2 separate regions of the Homo sapiens genome follow, and region 1 is linked to region 2. The links are contacts of gene promoters, found by promoter capture Hi-C in blood cells and fetal thymus (Javierre and others, 2016). All regions are on one chromosome and are shown on one strand. The core of a region is centred on a gene start or on the middle of the fragment in contact, and the rest is flanking DNA. Distances in the headings are between cores, read along the strand shown. Region 1 holds the start of SMC5 (structural maintenance of chromosomes 5). Region 2 holds the start of C9orf40 (chromosome 9 open reading frame 40).

What was found. Contacts are between HindIII fragments. The CHiCAGO score rates a contact against its expected background, and 5 or more counts as called.
Region 1: a contact is called between the fragment with the promoter of SMC5 here and the fragment with the promoter of C9orf40 in region 2, in 1 of 17 cell types (total B cells). The highest score is 5.7, in total B cells.

Annotation. Positions count from the first base shown.
Region 1 is chr9:70,257,222-70,262,800 of GRCh38, forward strand. SMC5 (structural maintenance of chromosomes 5) reads left to right here and starts at 1,757. Exons shown (of 25, transcript NM_015110.4): 1 at 1,757-2,042. The coding sequence starts at 1,858. It overlaps SMC5-DT (SMC5 divergent transcript), which reads right to left and starts at 1,653. Exons shown (of 4, transcript NR_039990.1): 1 at 1,175-1,653; 2 at 694-714. RefSeq lists enhancers at 1,324-1,513, 1,844-2,043 and a silencer at 1,584-1,803. The HindIII fragment of the contact is 2,740 bases long and covers 460-3,199 here.
Region 2 is chr9:74,950,979-74,956,634 of GRCh38, forward strand. It overlaps C9orf40 (chromosome 9 open reading frame 40), which reads right to left and starts at 1,934. Exons shown (of 2, transcript NM_017998.3): 1 at 1,208-1,934. The coding sequence starts at 1,633. CARNMT1-AS1 (CARNMT1 antisense RNA 1) reads left to right here and starts at 1,987. Exons shown (of 5, transcript NR_121183.1): 1 at 1,987-2,139. RefSeq lists an enhancer at 826-895 and silencers at 1,226-1,435, 1,706-1,915. The HindIII fragment of the contact is 1,820 bases long and covers 676-2,495 here.

The DNA.
Region 1 (5,579 bases), core at 507-3,006, 4.7 Mb before region 2:
AAAATCAAATAAAAAAAATCAAATAAAAAAATTAAAAGCTTTAGTCAGAACATGGCCCTCTCCTGCTTAAAACTTTGCAATGGCTTCCCATTGCTTTAAAAATAAAATTCAGGCTTTTCCACGATGGACAAGGTTCTGCTCTGCAACCTTGTTCACTGCTCTGCAGCAACACTGGCCTTCCCACCTCAGAGCTTTTGTCCTTACTGGTATGTTCCAGCAAAATTCTTTTGCCTGGGGTGCTCTTTTCTCAGATCGTCACAGTTTCTTCTCGTCCTTCAGAGTTTATCTTAAACACCACCACCTCTCTAAGAGGCCTTCCGTACCTCCCACCCATCAGGTTCATTTTGTTTTCTTCCTAACACCTGTCACAGTCTGACATTATGCTAATCATTTGTTGTGTCAGCCTTAAGTAGTGAAATTCAGAAAATATCATTAAGTATAGAGTTTATTCTAACGCAAAGCTTGAGGACAGCCACCTGGAAACACCAACTCCAAACAAATAGGGTCAATGTTCCAAAGTGAAGTTAAGGTTTCATTTACACAGGCAGAAACAGAGAAGGTTCAGCAGGAGTACATTTTCAATACAAGAGCAGTGCATAAATTACAGCGATTAGATTAGTTATAGATAGCTACATTCCAAGGAAGATAACTATATTAATTTATGAAGGGGGTAGTGATCTGAGGGGGTCTTACCTCTGTCTCTGTTTGGTCTTCCTGATTATAGGAAAAAACAAGGCAGACATTGCAGCTGTATGCCATGGGACTCAGGCCCCATCGCCACATTCTTCGCAAGGCTCAGAATAATTTAAAGTTCCAACAGCTTTAAGTTTGAATTATTTAATTTCACAGTTGATTCACTTGTTCTTTTCCTGTCTCCCACAATAGAAAATAAGCTCCCAGGGATGCAACCTTGGCAGGCTCCTAAACTGCCACGGCTCCAGTTTCTTGTAGATTAGATATTCACTGTTGGTTAAATGAAAGAAGTTCTAGACAGGCCTCGGTGTGCTGCCTCCTCTTTAACGAGAGGGCTTACTAGATGAATGTGAGCAGACGGAAGCAGAACACCCTCTTAATGAAGGCAGCGCATTCCAGCTCAGGGATTTCTAGAAACCTCGGGGGCGGAAGTTTAACCAGAGAATTAGGAGGCAAGGGGAAGAGTAGCAATGAGGTTAACCTGTGCAGTGTAGTCATTTCACGAGTTTGAGAACGCCTAGCACGATGCCTTAACGGAGCGTCGGGCACAGAGTCATTTGGGAGGATTTCTTTTTCGGATTTTTGAGACAGGAACCTGATTTGAAGCAACAGGGAAGAACACCAAGAGGACGAAGAGCCAACGACGGGCGTGCCCGGGAGCTCTCACCTGGAAGGGGTGGGAGCAAGCAGGGCCTGACGTCCTCCCGCCTTGGCGGCCGTGGACGCCCCAGGTGCCACCCACAGCAGCCTCCCACCACACATGACTGAGGCTCGGGAAGCAATAAAGTGGCTTTCAAAATACTAAACGCAATTGAGATTTTTTCCTGAGTTAAAACAAAAAAAAAAAGGAACTGAATGCCGAAATATACGGAGAAGAAACTCCAGTTGCCACGTCCCCGAACGTCTCCACCCAGTCCTGCCTGCTGTTTCGCCCTCAGTCTGGGCCTCGCACAGCGCGGCGGAGCGCGGGAGGGGCGGGGCGGGCCTGCTGACGTCGCCGGACCTGAACTGCGCAGGCGCGGCGCGAGATCGCGGGAGCGAGCGCGCGGTAACAGTTCGCGGCAGTTCGCGCGGGAGCGGGGCGCCTGGGTGGATGGGCGCTTGGGCGCCTGGGCTGCCGGACGGTGGGAACGGAAGTCGCTGTGGGACGCTGAGGAAGCCAGGATGGCGACTCCGAGCAAGAAGACGTCAACTCCAAGCCCCCAGCCTTCCAAGAGAGCTCTCCCGAGAGACCCTTCGTCGGAGGTCCCGAGCAAGAGGAAGAATTCGGCCCCGCAGCTGCCGCTGTTGCAGTCGTCCGGGCCTTTCGTGGAAGGCTCTATCGTCCGCATCTCGATGGAGAACTTCCTGTAAGTTGCCCGGAGGCCGCGCCGCGGGTGTGGAGGTGTGCTGGCCAGCAGGCCCCGGGGCTCCGGCAGCGCGCGGGCGTGGGCGTGTGGGTGTGTACCTGGCTTGTGGGTCTGGCCTTGAATTCGTGCCGGGGTTCCCTTGAGGATTTTCCTACGTAGGCTGTGGAGATTGACGTGTATGATGTAGGAGATGTGTGCCTTGGGTGATGTGGTTTTTAAATTTAGTCAGCCAAGGTTTTCCAAAGGTGTCATGTAGCAGGTAGTGGTTGTAGGAGGGAGTAGGTCTCTGCCCGCTGGGAGTCGCGATCCATAGCGGCCCTGGTCTGGAATTCACAGAAGTATTGTCCCCGGGAACTTAAGAGGAGGCAACAGTTAATTCGGCGTGATAGTGATGCTGTGGCGGATTCTTAGGGTAGGCATTTGCCAGAGAGGAGTAGATAAGACGGTAAAGGTTGTTCGGGAATGGAGGTTACAGGTACAAAAAAATTAAACACTTACTGGCAATTGTTGGACCTCCCTACAAACCCTTGACCCCACTAAACCCAGTTTTCTTCCCTGGTTCCTCCCTCTCCCCTTCAGACAACTAGTTACCGCTTTAGAATTTAGTAAGTTTTAAATATATCATGTATTTGCCTAGCACCTTCCAGTTCATTTGTTCCAGGTCTTTTTTTTTTTTTTTTTCCTCTTTTTTTTTGAGACGGAGTTGCGCTCCTGTAGCCCACGCTGGATGGAGTGCTGTGCCGCGATCTCGGCCCACTGCAACTTCCGCCTCTCGGTTTCAAGCGATTCTTCTGGGTCAGCCTCCCGAGTAGCTGGGACTACAGGCGCGCGCCACCACGCCCGGCTAGTTTTTGTTTTTGAGACGGAGTGTCATACTGTCGTCCGGGCTGGAAGGTAGTGGCGCAATCTCGGCTCACTGCAACCTCCGCCTCCCAGTTTCAATCAATTCTCCTGCCTCAGCCTCCCGCGTAGCTGGGATTACAGCCAGCCGCCACCACGCCCAGCTATTTTTTTTTGTATTTTAGTAGACTCGCGGTTTCACCGTGTTGACCAGGCTGATCTGGAACTTTTGACCTCAGGTGATCTGCCCGCCTCGGCCTCCCGTAGTGCTGGGATTACAGGCGTGAGCCACCATGTCCGGCCGGAAGTCTTTTTAAAGCTTGCACATAGTGGCATAAGGATAACAGAATTGTAATAACAATACTACCTTTTTTTTTCAAGCACCTATTGTGTGCCAGGTACATAGTGCACTCATTCTTTCTTCATAACAACTCTATCTTGATAATTTCCATTGCTGAAAGAAGCTCAGTAGGTTATTTTGCCCAGTTTTACGCAGCTGTTACATAGTTGCATTGCTATTTGAATCCAGATCAGGAAAGATAAATGTAATCAAATGAGTTAGATACCATAACAACATATATCAGGATCCTTCACAAAGGATGAAGTGGTTAGTTTTGTCTACGAGTATGAGAAAGGGCTTTGTAAAGAAGATATGAAAGTCTTTGGTCTTGCTCTGTTGCCCACGCTGGAGCTCAGTGGCATGATCAGGGCTCCGTGAAGCCTGGACCTCCCCTTCTCAAGTGATCCTCCTACCTCAGCCTTTCAAGTAGCTCGGACTATAGGCGCGTACCATACCTGGCTAATGTTTTAAAATTTTTTTGTAGAGATGGGGTTTCACCATGTTGCCCAGGCTAGTTTCGAACTTCTGGGCTCAAGAAACTCACCTCGGCCTCCCAAAGTGCTGGGATTACAGACATGAGCCACTGCACCCGCCTAAGAAGATAGGAAAGTCTTGCAAGAAGTGAAGAGCATTGAAGACAGAAGGAACTGTCTGAAATAGTTTGGTATATTTAGAAAGCGTCAAGTATTTTAGTAAGGCAAGAATATAGGATGTGAATGAGTATTTGGACAAAGGGTAAGCAACCATTCAGGGGCCTGTATGTTTACTATGCTAAGAAGTTCCGACATCATCCTGTAGGCAGCCACGGTGTGTTTTCAACAGGGAATGACGTGTGTTCTGTGTTATTCTGGAAGCACTGTAGAGGATGATTTAGAAAGGGTGCAAGATTGGAAGCAAAAAGACAATACGAAGGCAAGAGATGATCAGAGTGTGAAGGAATGAGATTTGACAGGATCCAGCTACAGAATAGTTGTGAGGCATGGGGGAAAGGGAGGAATGCAGCATTTTTCCCAAGTGTAAGAGCCTTAGCTAATTGATCAGGTGCTATTCAGAAGAGGGAGCAGTTTGAGGAGAATAATAAATGCCTCTTAGATCCTGTGACTTAAAGTTTCCTTTGTGGCATCTAAGAGAGATGTTCTATAGGCAGAATGTAGGAGTCTGGAGCTTAGAGGAAAATATGAACAGATGAGAGTTTTGGGAGTCATGCATACAGGTGATTGATGAAGTTGCAGAACTGGTTATGATTGCCCAATAGGAATTATGAATTGAAGAACTAGAAGACCATGTACAGAGTCTTGGGAGAATGCCTACATTAAGGGTGAACTGAAGAAGGACTCAAAGTCAGAAGGAACTATTCAGGGAGGTAAGATGAAAACAGTGGGAGACAATTATCAAAGAAGCCAAGGAAAAAGAATGTTTCAAAAATATCACCTGCTACATTGAAGTCAGATAGCGGGACTGAAAAGAGCCCACTGCATTTAGCAATTGGGAAATCTTTGACCTTTTAATGAAGCAGTGGAAGCAGAAAACTTTGCAGGCCGGATGCAAAGAGAAGAAAGAGAAGGTAGCTGGAAGTGCAGAGGTTGGTGAGATGCTGTTTATTTTAATGAGGGGATTTTGAGTTTTAGGCATGAGGTAGAGAAAGATGCGCTTAGAGAATTAGCAAGGAAATAAGATGGGTAGTTAGAGAATGTAAATGGCCTGGAAGAGAGTAGTGAGTGAACCAAGTCAAATGGAGTTGGGAGTGGAGGAAGACACTTGGAGGCTGAAGGAATAACATGTGCAAATACTTCAGAGCAATAAGGAATTATAGTCACAAAACTGAAAGAAGTACATTATAGGTAGAATTTAGAGGTCTAAGGAGAGAATAGGGAAAGGAGATAAAAAGTAGAAAAAGATGAAACTCGGCTGTGATGGGTTTTTCCTTAATTTTTCTTTTTTAACAAGTGACATCAGATTTACAATTCTACCAGCATCACTTGGTGATTGATTGGATGATGGAGTGGTGGTTTGGGTGGAGTCAAAAGAGATGAAAGAACCAAAGAGGATGCAAAACTAATGCCTAGGTTTCTGATTTGGTCAATGGCATGAATGATAATACCATTCACTAAGAGACCACAAGAGTGGTTTTGGATGGGAAAGATGGTGGATTTCGTTTTAAATGTGTTAAGTTTAAGATGACTGTTATGGGACATTCAAATAGCGTTATTGAGGTGACCATTGCATATAGAGGTCATCTGGACTGCTTTCAGCATGTAGATAGTATGCAAAGACTTGGAGAAAAAAAGGAATCATTGAGGCCATAGAGAATACATGAGATACCTCGTGAAGTATATGGAATGATAAGAGGGTGGGTC
Region 2 (5,656 bases), core at 684-3,183:
ATTTTCTTCAATATAGCCAAGTTATTTCATGTGTAATCAATATAAAATTGAGCTATTTTATCTTCATTTATTAAATCCACGAAATTTCGTGTATATTTTAAACTTAGAGCACATTTCCATTTGGACTAGTCACGTTTCAAGTGTTCTTACCGGCTAGCGGCCGGGCAGCAGAGATCTAGGCAAACCGAGGCATACCTAGATCTTCTCAGGATTCTTACATGCAGAGATGAGGCAGGCTCATGTCTTGAATAAAAACCCGCCAATGATTCTCATATACGCCTTAAGGCCCAAATTAATTTTCTTTTTTCTTTCTTTTCTTTTCTTTTTTTTTGAGACAGCGTCTCACTCTGTGGCCCAGGCTGGAGTGCACTGGCCCAATCTCAGCTCACTGCAACCGCCATCTCCCAGGTTAAAGTGATTCTTGTGCCTCAGCCTCCCGAGTAGCTGTGATTACGGGCATACACCACCACACCCAGCTAGTTTTTGTGTTTTAATAGAGACAGAGTTTCACCCTATTGGCCAGGCTGGTCTCGAACTCCCGACCTCAGGTGATCCACCCGCCGTGGCCTCCCAAAGTCCTGGGATTCCAGGCGTGAGACACCACGCCCCGCCCCCAAATTAATTTTCAATGATACTTTTGCCTAGGATCAGATTTAACACTATGAGTTAAAACAAAGCTTTGACCAAGGTACGGTGGTCCATCCTTTTCTCCAGAAGCTGTACCAGCCGGTAGGACGTTCAATTAATCAATGGCTACCACACTGGTCTCCCTCTAGAAAAAGAACTCTATCCCGAATTCTAGACTAATCATCGTTAAACCCAGGAAGGCCCTCTACACCTTTATCTGTCGTTTGTCTTTGGGCTGAACCTATGCCCTGACGGTCTGCGTTCTCGCCATGCTCACAGCCCGCCACGACCCACGGTCCCGTTTCCCTTTTACGGAGCGCGGCGCTGACGCCGCAAGGCCACTTCTATCGCTCCCGACCACGGTCTGTTTCCCCCTCGCCCAGCCCAGTGCTTTCTGCCCATCGGACTCTCGGGGTGTGCTTCTGGCGGTCGGCGTCCTCTCCCGGAGCGGTGACCCCTTCTTTCAACCCCCTCAGGCGTCTTAACCTACACAAGTCATGAGTGGGAACCGGGGCGTTTTGTGTGTGTGGGGAAAAGGCAAGCCCCTTCGCCCCTCAGCCCACCCGCCCCCAGCCCCTACCTGGCGCGATGCGACCCCCCAGTCTCCCCGCGGGGGTCCTGCGCGCCCCGCCCCGTCGTCGCCACCGCCCCCCGGGAGCCGGGCGCCCGGGAGCTCCTCCCCCGGCCCCGGCAGTACGGGCGGCGGCGGCAGCGGCGGATCGCCTGTCTCCAGACCGTGGTCCTCACGCTCCTGGCCGCTCGGGGCGCTGTTGTCCCCGCTGTCACGGCGCTTGCTGGGCGAAGCCGAGGGCTCTGCCATGGTCCCTGCGTCGATTTTGCGCTTTCGGTGCTGCTCTGGGACGCCGAGGAGCTGCCCAGCATGCGCGACCCCGGGCGGCCGGATCCAGAGAGGCGGTGGCGGCGGCTGCTCAGCGAAGTCGCAAAGCAGGAGCCGCTTCCAAGGCACGTGGAACGTCACCGGCTCGGCCGCACGCCGCTTGGCCATGGGCCCAGAGGCTCGGGCGGAGCCCGCCAGGCGCGGGAGACCGAGTGCCGATAGCTGCGGGGGGCGAAGAGCGAGGACTGAGCGCGTGAGAGAGGGACAGGCCGAAGTCGGGCGAGGAGGCGACAGGACGCTGGAGGGGGTAGGGCGGGGCAGCTCGCGCAGGGCCTAGGGCTGGGGCTCCGGCTCGGAGGCAGCTCCCGCGCTCAGCCCTCGCCGCCGCCGAGATGCGGCCCGGACGTTGAGAAGCAACCGCGAAGCGGCGGAGATTCGAACCTGCGCACAACGTGCGCGCGCGCACTCTGTCTGGCCAGGCGGAGCCGCTGGTTGGTGGAGGCTCGCGGGGCGCGCTCCCGAGCGCCCTCGCGACCGGAAGTGCGCGCTCGGGGGTAGGCGGGAAGGCCGCGGCGGGATTAATTAAAGACCCGATCAAGCGGCCCGCAGAGGGGCGTGACCTTGTTTCCTCAGGAGTGTGGCGGTGGTCTTACTACTATGTTCGTTATAGCGCGGTACGTTCTAGACCCTTCTATAGGAAATTTAAAACCTTTAAAATGTGTATTTCCTTCCTCCAGTCAGTGACCACGGGGGCGTCTCCATGAGATTAAGACAAAGATTATAATAGAGTTCCAGACTATCCTGGGCAACATAGCAAGACCTCGTCTCTACAAAAAATCAAAAATAGGCCAGGCTTGTTGGCCTGCCCCTGTGGTCCCAGCTACTCGGGAGGCTGAGGAGGAAGATTCACTTGAGCCTGGGAGGTGGAGGCTGTAGTGAGCCAGAGATCGCACCACTACACTGCAGCCTGGGCAACAGAGCGAGATGCCGTCTCAAAAAAAAAAAAAAAAAAAAGGAAAAGGATAATACAAGCTTTAAATAAAACTAGTGTTTAAGAAGCTTCACAGTAGGTTGTTATTCAAAACAAAAGACTGAAGGGAGTCTGGGCTGAGGGAAGTAGCTAAAGCTAACAGAAAACACAAATCGAAGTGTATGTTTTGCATGTTTTGCGCAGCTGCTGTGGAAGGTGAAGCAGGCCCTACATTCCTGGAAGATCTCTTGATTAAAAACTTATGGAGGAAGTTACAGACAAAATGTGCAGCTCATCCAAAATAGCTGAGTAGTTGGCAAGAACCAAGCCTGAAGCGCAGCTGTCCTTTCTAACTGAAACCTAAAATTGTTGGGCTCTTAATTAATGTTGGAAGGCTGAGTTCCCTGCTTACTATGGGCGGTGGTCAGATCAAGATTCTATGGCCATTACAGCAAAATAGTGTTGTCAGGTGAAGTGAGGTGGAGACAATTGCAGTATATTTACTATTTTATTATTTTTATTTTTTATTTTGTTTGAGACAGGGTCTCTCTCGGCCACCTAGGCGGGAGTGCAGTGGTGCCATCACGGCTCACTGCAGCCGGGCCCCACTGAGCTCAAGCGATCTCCTGTCTGGGCCTCCCAAAGTGCTTGGTTTATAGGTGTGAGCCACCGCATCTGGTCGTATTTACTATTTTAATAGTTTGATAAAGACAGTAACCAAGTAAGCAGAAATGGAAGGAAGAAAATAAGACTATTACCAGTGCTTTGAAGGGAAAAACTATCATCCTCTGTAGAAAAAGTGTGCAAGAAAGATAATTCTATTTTAGTGCTAGGTACTATCTCAGTACTAATTTACCCTGTACCCCTGCATCTCAAGGTGGTTGTGAGAGGACAAGTTAATTATTAGTTATTAACAAGCACAGAAATGTACCAAGTTAGGGTAGTAAGCAATAGCTTTTCTGTTTGGTTTTTACTTTTCTTGTTTGAAATTGGTAACCGGCCGGGTGCGGTGGCTCACGTCTTTAATCCCAGCACTTTTGGGAAGATGAGGTGCACAGATCACCTGAGCCCAGGAGTTCCATACCAGCCTGGCCAACATGGTGAAACCCCATCTCTACAGAAAATACAAAAATTAGCCAGAGGTGGTGCCTTGCACCTGTAGTCCCAGGGAGGCTGAGGTGGGAGGATCGCTTGAACCCTGGAGGCAGAGGCCAAGATTGCACCACTGTACTTCCAGCCTGGGTGACAGTGTGAGACCCTGTCTCCAAAAAAAAAAAAATAAATTGAAAACCCGTCTGTCTCAAACAGAGGAAGAGTTTTGCCATTTTTAAATCAGCAGGAAAGATCTTAATCGTAGTCATCAAGTGCTGTTTGAAAGGTTTTGAGTACCCCCAAAATAATAAGTTTAGCTAATGGTTGGTTCTTTTGTGTTCCTCTTTACAAACGCTCATTTTTTCAAAATTGTGAAACTTATCATATATGCAAAAGGTTGTATAAAATACACATGTAGTTAAAAGAATGATAGTAAGACATACAGCATTCTGTTTCAGAAATAGAATACTACCTATACTAGAACATGACAAGCTCCCTATGCGTCCCTTCCCCACTGGCACATACCCTTCCCTTTCCCTCACTCCCGGTAATTACCGTTTTACATGTTGAGTTAATCATTCCTTTGCTTTTTAACTCTTCCATTTGTATGTCTGTATGTATATTGCTAAATAACTTTTTTTTTTTTTTTTTTGAAACGGGGCTTGCTCTGTTGCCCTGGCTGGAGAGCAGTGATATGATTACAGCTCACTGCAGCCCTGACCTCTCAGGGGCAAGCAGTCCTCCCACCTCAGCCTCCTGAGTAGCTGAGACTACAGGTGTACATCACCACACCCAGCTAATTTTTAAAATTTTTTTGTAGAGCCAGGGTTTTGCCACGTTGCCCAGACTTGTCTCAAAGTCCTGAACTCAAACAATCTGCCTGCCCTGGCCTCCCAAAGTGTTGGGATTACAGGCATGAGCCACCACACCCAGCTTAATATATTTTCTGAGACCAGGTCTTGCTCTGTTGCCCAGGCTGGAATGTAGTGGCGTGATCACTGCTCACTGCAGCTTCAACTTCCTGGCCTCAAGCAATCCTCCTGCCTCAGCCTCCCAAGTAGCTGGGCCCATGGCTTGTGCCACCACACCCAGCTAATTTTTTATTTTTAGTAGCAACAAGGTCTCACTATGTTGCCCAGGCTTGTTTTGCCGGGCTTTTTTTTGTTTTTGTTTTTAAAACAGCTTTACCTAGGTCTAAATGACACACAATAATGTGCATATAAAGTGTACAATTTGACATTCATACACCTGTGAAACCATAACCACCATCAAGATGATCAAAGTTTTGAGAGCAGTCTTTGACATCTTGTTCTTTAGGAGTGTGTCAACTATACTTGGCCCTTTGTTCTTCCATAATAGCATCCTCTGTAACATTTAGTTACCCTTTTGGAATTTTGGTTATAATTGCATTGAGATTATAGATCAATTTGGGAAGAATTATTATCTTTACAATACCAAGCTCATTTCCTGTTCAAGAATATAACTATTTAAGTTTTTAAAAATCTTTCAATAAAGTTTTATATTTCTCAACATAAAGAGCTTATATCTTTGTTAAGTTTATCCCTAGGCACTTTATAATTTTTGTAGACAATATTCTTTTTCTTTTTAAATAACATTTTCTGAGTTTTTGTTGCTGCTCTGGGTTCTTTTTTTTTTAAGGCCCCAGAAGTAGAATTTGAAATTAGTTTACCCTAAGTTGTAAGTAGTACCAGATCCACTTGTTCAAGGAATTTGTCCATTTCATTCATCACATTTGTTGGAATATTTTCTTAGTTTCTCTTTTTCCCATTTCATTGGCTTCTACTAAATTTGGATTTACTTTGCTCTTCTTTCTCTAGCTTCTTCTAATAGAACCTAGGTCACTGATTGTAGTCTTTGTTAGTTTCTTTTTGGAGACAGAGTCACTCTGGCTGGAGTGAAGTGGCACGATCTTGGCTCACTGCAGCCTCTGCCTCCCAGGTTCAAGCGATTCTCCTGCCTCAGCCTCCCGAGTAGCTGGGACTACAGGTGCATGCCACCGCACCTGGCTAATTTTTGCATTTTTAGTAGAGGTGGGGTTTCACCATGCTAGCCAGCTTGGTCTCAAACTCCTGACTTCAGGTGATCCACCCACCTCGGCCTCCCAAAGT